Linked DNA regions of Homo sapiens: all the other regions are linked to region 2. The links are contacts of gene promoters, found by promoter capture Hi-C in blood cells and fetal thymus (Javierre and others, 2016). All regions are on one chromosome and are shown on one strand. Each heading gives the region's core, a stretch centred on a gene start or on the middle of the fragment in contact. The rest is flanking DNA. Distances are from core to core; before and after follow the strand shown.

Region 1 (2,700 bases), core at 4-2,503, 210 kb after region 2:
ATATTGTCAGTGGCTCTCTGTCAGTAGTTGTAACAGAGGCTGTGTGACTTGCTAAGACTGAAATATTTACTATTAGTTCTTGACAGAATGAATTGACCCTTGGAAAATCTTAACCTCTGTGTGTGCCAATATTCCTACCTTGCTTCCTCATAAGGCATTGCCTCTTGAATTTTCAACTAAGTCATCCCAAAACATTAGGATGGAGCATTCAGACCACACTGCCTCAAGCTTTCCATTTGAGGACCGCTTCCTAGAGGGGCAGCAGCATTCATTCCATCAGTCCACAGACCCAGAGCATCAGCCGAGAGCCAGGCACCCTGCTAGGTAGTGGGAATAGGCAGATGAGTACGGCACACTCAGCTCCCAGCTGGGAAGTACTGAATTAAACTGTAGGTCTGTGTCACTGGTAACCACAGAGGCTATACAAGGCCATGCAAAGCAGTTCCCTGCGGCCTAGTCTTTCTTTCTCTGCTTTCTTTCTCTCTCCCTTGTTTTAAAAAAATCTCTCTCCCTCTCTTGCCTCCTCTTCCTCCTTGACTCTCTCCTGGCCTCCTTTCCTTTCTTTCTTCCTCCCTCTTGCCCACATCTCAGCCTGCCAGTGCCACCCAGTGGCTCTGACAGGCATTACTCAGACTTGCTGACTGCCCTCTAGGTTGGAAATGACCATGGGGAAGTCAGTAAGTGCCTATAATTAGGGATTCCAAAGCAATTAGACAGGTCTAGTGAATCTTTGCAATCCTCTGAATGCTCAAAGCATTAATATTAGCTTTTTAAGTCATTTATACCTAGGTATAAATGAAGGAACCCAGGAGAGGCTTTGTTAAGGGGAAAGAGATCAGGGAGGCCCTAATGATTAATGTTAAAGAGGTTACTGCATGTTGGCCTGGTGCGATGTTTCACGTCTGTAATCCCAGCCCTTTGGTAGGCCAAAGCAGATGGATCACTTGAGCCCAGGAGTTCGAGACCAGCCTGAGCAACATGGCAAAAATCAGTCTCTACAAAAAACACAAAAATGAGCTGGGTGTGGTGGTGCATGCCTGTAGTCCCAGCTACTCAGAGGGCTGAGGTGAGAGAGTTGCTTGAGCCAGAGGGGTGCAGGCTGCAGTAAGCTGTGATGGCACCACTGCACTCCAGCCTGGGTGACGGAGTGGTAAGACTCTGTCTCAAAAAAAAAAAAAAAAAAAAAAAAAAAAAAAAAAAAAAGGTTACTGCATACTGTTCTGAGCAAAAATTTCATTTGGTATAGCTGACAATACAGTATTATACACATAAAAGTTTGTTAAGAGGATAGATCACTTGCTAAGTGTTCTTACCTCAATAAAAAATAGGTAAATAAATATAAAATTGCATTTGAATTGGTTCAGGGGTGTTATTTAGATAGTATATGATATGGATGTAAAAAAATGTGAAATGACAGATTTATGACTGTAACCAGTTTATTGGTCCATCTTAATTCTTATAATGGATTAACATAAAATGATAGTATTTTTTCTGATCACCATAATTAATTGTGGTCTCTTTAATTCCATTTCCTGTCCTCTAATAACACCTTAGGTGAATCTAGTGGAGTCAAGGGAATGGCCTCTCACATAGATGCTGCCCCTACAAGGCTTTGGTAGCAAAACCCTCAGATTATTGCAGGGCTGAGCTCAGACCCTTGTTGATTCTCTCTCCCTTTCCTACAACTCTTCCCATAAGGAACAGACTGCAGGGGTCGGGTGTGTGTGTGTGAGTGTAGTTGATAACAGAAGGGCTGTTTCCAGGGATATTTAATAACTGGAGGGGATGTGTCTGGTTCCAAATTTAAGCCACTGTCTTTAGAAGGAGGGGTACTGAGCACTTGCTGTTTGGGACAATTCTGTGAGAACAGGAAAAAGTTCCACTCATCTAATCATAGCCTTGGCGCAAACAGTCTTGCACTGTGCACAGATGAATGCTCATTAGTGTGAGGGCGGCTGTGGCACCAGGATGCTGCCTTTCCATGTCATCCCAGCATCCAACTCATGGATACTGGTCATTATAAAGTGATGCTTAAACTGTGACTATGATTTTCTCACCTACCAAGTGATTTTCTCCCCTAAGAATCTGGGTCTCAGAATTCTAGTATTTCAATAGCCACCAAACTTGTGCAGAGTCTAATGGAGGTTCTGGATGGCACTGTATATTAGTCCGCTCTCACACTGCTATGAAGAAATACCTGAGACTGGGTAATTTATAAAGGAAAGAGGTTTAATTGACTCACAGTTCCGCAGGGCTGAGGAGGTCTCAGAAAGCTTACAATCATGGCAGAAGGGGAAGCAAACACATCCTTCTTCGCTTGGTGGCAGGAAGGAGAAGAATGAGAGAAGTACCGAGTGAAGGTGGGGGAAAGCCCCTTATAAATCCATCAGATCTCATGAGAACTCACTCACTATCATGAGAACAGCATGAGGGTAACCGCCCCCATGGTTCAATTACCTCCCATCGGGTCCCTCCCATGGCACATGGGGATTATGGGAACTACAATTCAAGATGAGATTTGGGTGGGGGCACAGCCAAACAATATCACACGGCTCTTTTAAGTGTGAGAAAGCAGGAGAAGGGGCCACTGTCTGTCCATTATCATCACTGGTAGGATTAACCTCACTTCTGGGCCAAAAAGTAGTTATTTGAACTACAGTGATATTTGAAAGACTTCTTTGTCCTAAACCATCTCTCCCA
Region 2 (2,700 bases), core at 64-2,563:
CCGGCGGCTGCTGTCCAGTCGCCCGTGCTTCCCAAGGCTGCCGAGGAAGCGGCTGCTGCTCATTCCAGTAGATCCAACGCCCAGGCTAGGGGGTAGAGACACAGCCCTTGTGGTAGGGTAGGGCACGTCTTCGGCCCACCGCTCCTGGGCGCCAGTGGCTTCAAGGGAAGACCTTGGGACCTGGATAGGGTTCTCCCTCGCACCAGAAGTCATCGGCCTGTGGGGTCTCCAGGAGCCACACCTCTCGAGGCAGGTCACAGGCCGAGCTGGAGGCCTCCTTGGGCCTGACCGGCTCCAGCACCCGGTAATAGTGGCAGTCCCGGCCATCGTCCGGGTCGTAGGGCGGGGCCAGGATGTCCAGGAAGGCGGCAGGCCCTTCCACGGCGTCGATCTGGTGCAGGTTGTCCCGGTGCGGTGTGAGGATGCAGGGGCCGCTGGCCTCGGTGTACTCGGCCCGCGAACGCAGCACGCCCGGCCGCACGGCTTCTCGCTCCCGGGGCTGCAGCGGCGGCTCGAACTGCTGCTCGGGCGGCAAGGCCCGCGGCCGTTGCCCGCCGCCCGCGTCTAGCTTGTCCATGCAGCTGATGCGCACGGTGCCGTACAGCACCTTGAGCATGCCGTGCATGCCCGGGTGGTCGTGCAGCGGGATGGACGTGCCGCTCTTGAGCAGGAACACGCCCAGGCTGAAGCCGTCCGTCTCGTAGATGTGCATGTAGGTGACTGGCGGCAGGTTGGGCGGCAGCGGCTGCAGTGTGGCCTTGCGCGGGGCGATGTTCAAGTCCTCGGCGCGGAGCTGGGTCAGGAGGCTCTTCAGCTTGCTCAGGTTCTCGGGGAAGCCCGGCTGCATCGGCGCCTCCGGGCCAGAAGCCGCGTCGCGATCGGAAGCGCCGCGGCCGCCCCCGCTGCCCCGGAAGGTGAGGCAAGCCTGGCGGGCGATCCGTTGGATCAAGGAGGCCATGTTGTCTCGGGGCATGGTCGGCTGCTCCTCTGCGTGCCGGGACCGGCCCCCTCCTTTCCTCCGCCCCTTGCGGTCCCCGGCGGCCGCCACGGCTGCCCCCAGCCCGGGTCGAGGCGGGAGGCCCCGCAACCACCGGCCCGTCGGGCGCGCGGCACCGCCGCCAACCTCAGCAGCCACGCGCCCGCAACTGCCCGGCGCGCTCGCCTTGAGCCCCCTCTGAGCGCGCACGCGCACGCCCCACACCCCGCACTCACGCTCCGGGAGCAGATAGCGGCCGCGCAGACGGTGCCAGGCTTTGCCTTACGCCCGGCGCTCCATTCATGCGGCCCGCACCTACGACGGTGGCCGGGCGCCCGGGGACCCTGCGGAGCATGCCGGGACTTGTAGTCCGGCCTTCCGCTTGAGCTCTGAGATAGTTCAGTTTGTTGATTGGAAAATAGAGGAACTATTACACATGTTGGGCATAAAGCGATCTTTTTCAGGATGCAGAGGTGTTTTTCTTGTTTTAGAAAAGATGAATCGGGGTGGAAGATTAGTAGCCACTTGACTACAACTCCCGGCACTCCCCGCAGGGTGGAGTGACGCACTTCCGTCAGCTGGCCCCCGGAGTAGTGGAGGCTCTTGGCCTTCATAAGGAAAGGGGCAGGGAGGGTCGTTAACCTTCTGGCGCCGCGCTGGGGCCTGGTTAGCCATGCAGGGTCGCCTTCCTTTGGCCTTGCCCCTGGGAAGGAGGCTGTTGAGTCAGCCTTAGCTCCTCGTAGCGGCCTAGGCAGCACTGTCTCCCACGGGAATTGCAGGAGGGCGCTTTTATAATTTTGTGTTTCCTAGGAGGGGAGGGGGTCCAGGCCGTCCTCTGTGATCATCAAGGTTACTCGGCCCAGCTGGGCCCAGCTGGGCCCAGCTGTTGTTTGCATCAGGACCTGATGACGCTGCTCTTCTGGTTACAGAGCAGTATAGCTTTTTGCTGGAGAGACTTGAGAGGCCATTTACAGTGGTCGTGGATTCTGAACATACTAGTGGTTATCAAATCTTGGTTTGCCTGAGAAGGGGGAGCGGGCTTTTATAAATGCAGATTCCCTGTCGTCACCCAGAGATGGAGTTACTAGATGGTTCTGAGGCATCCTAGGAGAAATAGTGGTGTGCAACAGTCAGTTCAGTCAGTAATTGTGAAATTGTTTCACTACACAGAGGCATCCTTCTCCTTGGCGTGAACTAACTTTTGGCATAAGTAAATGACTAGAAAAGCAAGACATTAGATACTATGACTTTAAACTTAACCCTGAGTTTAAAGTCTTTTTGGATTCCAAAGCTGAACATGGGTTTCTTGTACATTTTGTAATTGGAGTGGTTCAGTGAATCCTCTCCAGTTAAAATAGGCATACTTTTTAAAGTGGATTACATAACCTGGCTAATGAGTACTCACAATATGCCAGGCACTGTGTTAAGTGCATTATATAATGAATGTTATACTATTTAATCCTTGCAGCAACTCTTAAGAGGCAGGCACTATTATTATTCCCAGATTGCAGATGAGGGAATAAGTTGTAGGATAGTGAATACTAAGTACCCAGCAAAGCATGAGCAGCAGAGCAGAAATAAGTACAGTCTTACCAAAAACAGCAGCTTGAATTGGTGTAAAAGCACCAAACGAGAGTCAGGATATTGTTGTTCCAGCCTACTGTGTGTACTTACAAGCTGTGTGTCGTTAGGCAAATCCTACCCTTTTAGGGCCTCAATTTATT
Region 3 (2,700 bases), core at 34-2,533, 230 kb after region 2:
GGTAACAAGCTGCGAGCCTCCAAAGTACCTTCAACTTTAGGATCTCCCTGGGAAAGGGTCACAAGTGTAATCATCTTCAGCTGTCCCTGCCTCGCTTCCGCCGTCAATGGAAATATCCAGGCAGGATGAATACACTTTCTGACTAGACTCTCGACTGACCTAGACAGCTTTTGGAAATTCAGGATATACTTTTCCTAAAGCTTCTTAATTTTTCCCATCCCTCCCTAATTGAAAACATCATTTATCCCATTACAGCATGTGGAAAGAGAGGGGAGGGAAAAGCAGACAGAATCTGAATTTAGGATAAAAATTACTTCGTGAGGTTATTATTCTCATTCATAACAGATGACAATTTTCATGTCATTTAGGTGATTCCAGAACAGAATCATCCAAAAAGATATTAAGTACTATTTTTTCATACTATTTATCTCAAAGGATGTAAAATGAGACATGTATACCTACATTTAGTAGCTACTCATCCATATCTTGCATATTTCCTGGGAATGTTTTGAAATGTTGTCAAGTTCAGTTAGCTGTTATTTCACTGGCCACACGTGAAAGAATTTGTCTCCTTCACTTATACTGTGGTGGGTTCCAAAGACTTAGACTTCCTCCAGTGTCTGAGAACTGTCTGAAGATCCTACTTCTAAAGAAATTTGTGGATGAGTAGTTTCTGATGTAACTCTATTCCTCATTTGTAAGGTGACAGCTACTTCTTCAATAGCACAGCTCCTCCATGGGCTTGCAAATGGGCTCAGCCAGCTCAGATTTGAAACACTCTTTAAAATTCTAAGACGATGTGTCATTTCAAGGGTAAAAAAGCAACATTGCTATAAATATGAGTGGATGCTGGAGTCCCAAAGACTTTCAATACCCTGCAGCTTCCTAGCTGCTGACATCAGCAACATGGTTCTTATTATAGAGCTGGATTTCAGACTGTGGAACTTCCCAAGTATCATTTCCACTCTATGTAAAGAACATGGATTCAGTCCGGTTTCCATGGAGTTAATGGATAAGATTTGGAATGGATCCCTCTCTCGGCCATTTCTGCGAATTAACAAGATGACTCTGGTCCACTAACCCATTTCCAGGGACTAAGATAATGTGAAAGAATTTGATTCTGTCACCCATTGGAACTGAAATTGTTGTTTAGCAATGAATACAATTAGCTCCAAATATACTGGATGAATTAGGACCTTCTAAGGCAGTAGCAAAAGAAGAGCTCAAATATCAACAACAACCAAAAACTCAACAATCTGCTCTCGGTCTGAACTTTCAAGCGAATGAATTGTTACTTGCATGGGCTAACAAAATCCCCTTAAAAATTACCTCTGTTCAGTACATATTAACCCATGTGAGTCAAGTTCTTGGCTAGGCTCCTTATAAGCACCATCTCCCATAACCTTCACAATAGTCCAGTGAGGTAGGTATTCCTATTGCTTCCGTTTTACAGTTGATGAGACTGAGGCACAGAGAGATTAGGTAACTTGCCCAAGGGCACACAAAAAGTAAGTGGCACAGTTGAGACATGAAAACAATCCTGACTGACTTTAAATCCCCGGAACCATTCTGCAATCCTGCCTTGACGATAGGTCAAAGTCTCTGCTTCCGTGGTATTAAAATTGAAAAAAAGCAGCAGTTGCTGAGAAAGTTTCACTCAGTGCGACATCTGTAGCTATCTTTTCCCTCTCCCTAGGCTCCTACTTATTAGCTTTCTAATGACACTGACATTTTCTATTTGGCAAATATGCTTTTGTATTGTATGGGTTTTGGGGTTTTTTTGTTTTTTGGGTTCTTCTTGATTCAGTCTCACTCTATGGCCCATCTCTGCTTACTGCAACCTCCGCCTTCCAGGTTCAAGTGATTCTCCTGCCTCAGCCTCCTGTGTAGCTGGGATTACAGGTGCCTGCCATCGCGCACGGCTAACTTTTGTATTTTTAGTAGAGACGGGGTTTCACCATGTTGGCCAGGCTGGTCTCGAAGTCTTGACCTCAAGTGATCCACCGGCCTCATCCTCCCAAACTGCTGGGATTACAGACATGAGCCCACCATGCCCAGCCGGTTTTTTTGTTTTTTTTTTAGAGTCAGAGTCTCGTGGCTCTGTCATCCACCACGCTGGTGTGCAATGGTGCCATCACTGCAGCCTTGAACTCCCAGACTCAAGCAATTCTTCCACCTCAGCCTCCCAAGTAGCTGGGACTACAGGTGTGCACCACTGCATGTGGCCAATTTCTTAATTTTTTTTTTTTAGAAATGGGGTCTTGCTATGTTGTCCAGGCTGGTCTGAAACTCCTGACCTCCTCCCAAAGTGCTGAGATTACAGTGCTGAGCCACTGCACCTGGCTTATTTTATGTTTAAAGCTTGCTTTTGCAGAATGCATATTTCATATCAGCAGTGAAGCATTGAGGAGTCACAGAGGTCTCTCCATGCCTCTACCATGGCAAGGTTGAAAGGAGGCCTTGTGCTTTGGTTTGCTCATCCAAGAACTTGACACATACCACTAGTCCTGCTGGGGGCCTCTCGTCCTATAGGAGACCTTGGTTTGCCAAATGCAAGACCTCAAAGCTCAAAGCCTTCCACAAACATATTTTTAAATCTTTATTCATTTCTGCATATGAGGAAATTAAGGAAATAGAATCTAATTTTGTGAAATTTACATCTTTTAGGCCGATGACAATTATTGTTCTTAAAAAAATGTA

The links. Contacts are between HindIII fragments. The CHiCAGO score rates a contact against its expected background, and 5 or more counts as called.
Region 1: a contact is called between a fragment that was not itself captured here and the fragment with the promoter of ADO in region 2, in 6 of 17 cell types (M2 macrophages, M1 macrophages, monocytes and 3 more). The highest score is 15.8, in M2 macrophages.
Region 3: a fragment that was not itself captured here is called in contact with the fragment with the promoter of ADO in region 2 in 1 of 17 cell types (M2 macrophages); the score reaches 5.2 in M2 macrophages.

What each region holds. Positions count from the first base shown.
Region 1 is chr10:62,592,107-62,594,806 of GRCh38, reverse strand. No RefSeq gene overlaps it. Among named protein-coding and RNA genes, the nearest start is that of ADO, 210 kb to the left of the region's middle. The HindIII fragment of the contact is 2,045 bases long and covers 231-2,275 here.
Region 2 is chr10:62,803,333-62,806,032 of GRCh38, reverse strand. It overlaps ADO (2-aminoethanethiol dioxygenase), which reads right to left and starts at 1,313. Exons shown (of 1, transcript NM_032804.6): 1 at 1-1,313. The coding sequence starts at 973. The coding sequence ends at 161. RefSeq lists enhancers at 709-828, 1,299-1,558 and a silencer at 1,009-1,258. The HindIII fragment of the contact is 5,397 bases long and covers 1-2,700 here.
Region 3 is chr10:62,575,940-62,578,639 of GRCh38, reverse strand. No RefSeq gene overlaps it. Among named protein-coding and RNA genes, the nearest start is that of ZNF365, 200 kb to the right of the region's middle. The HindIII fragment of the contact is 2,161 bases long and covers 203-2,363 here.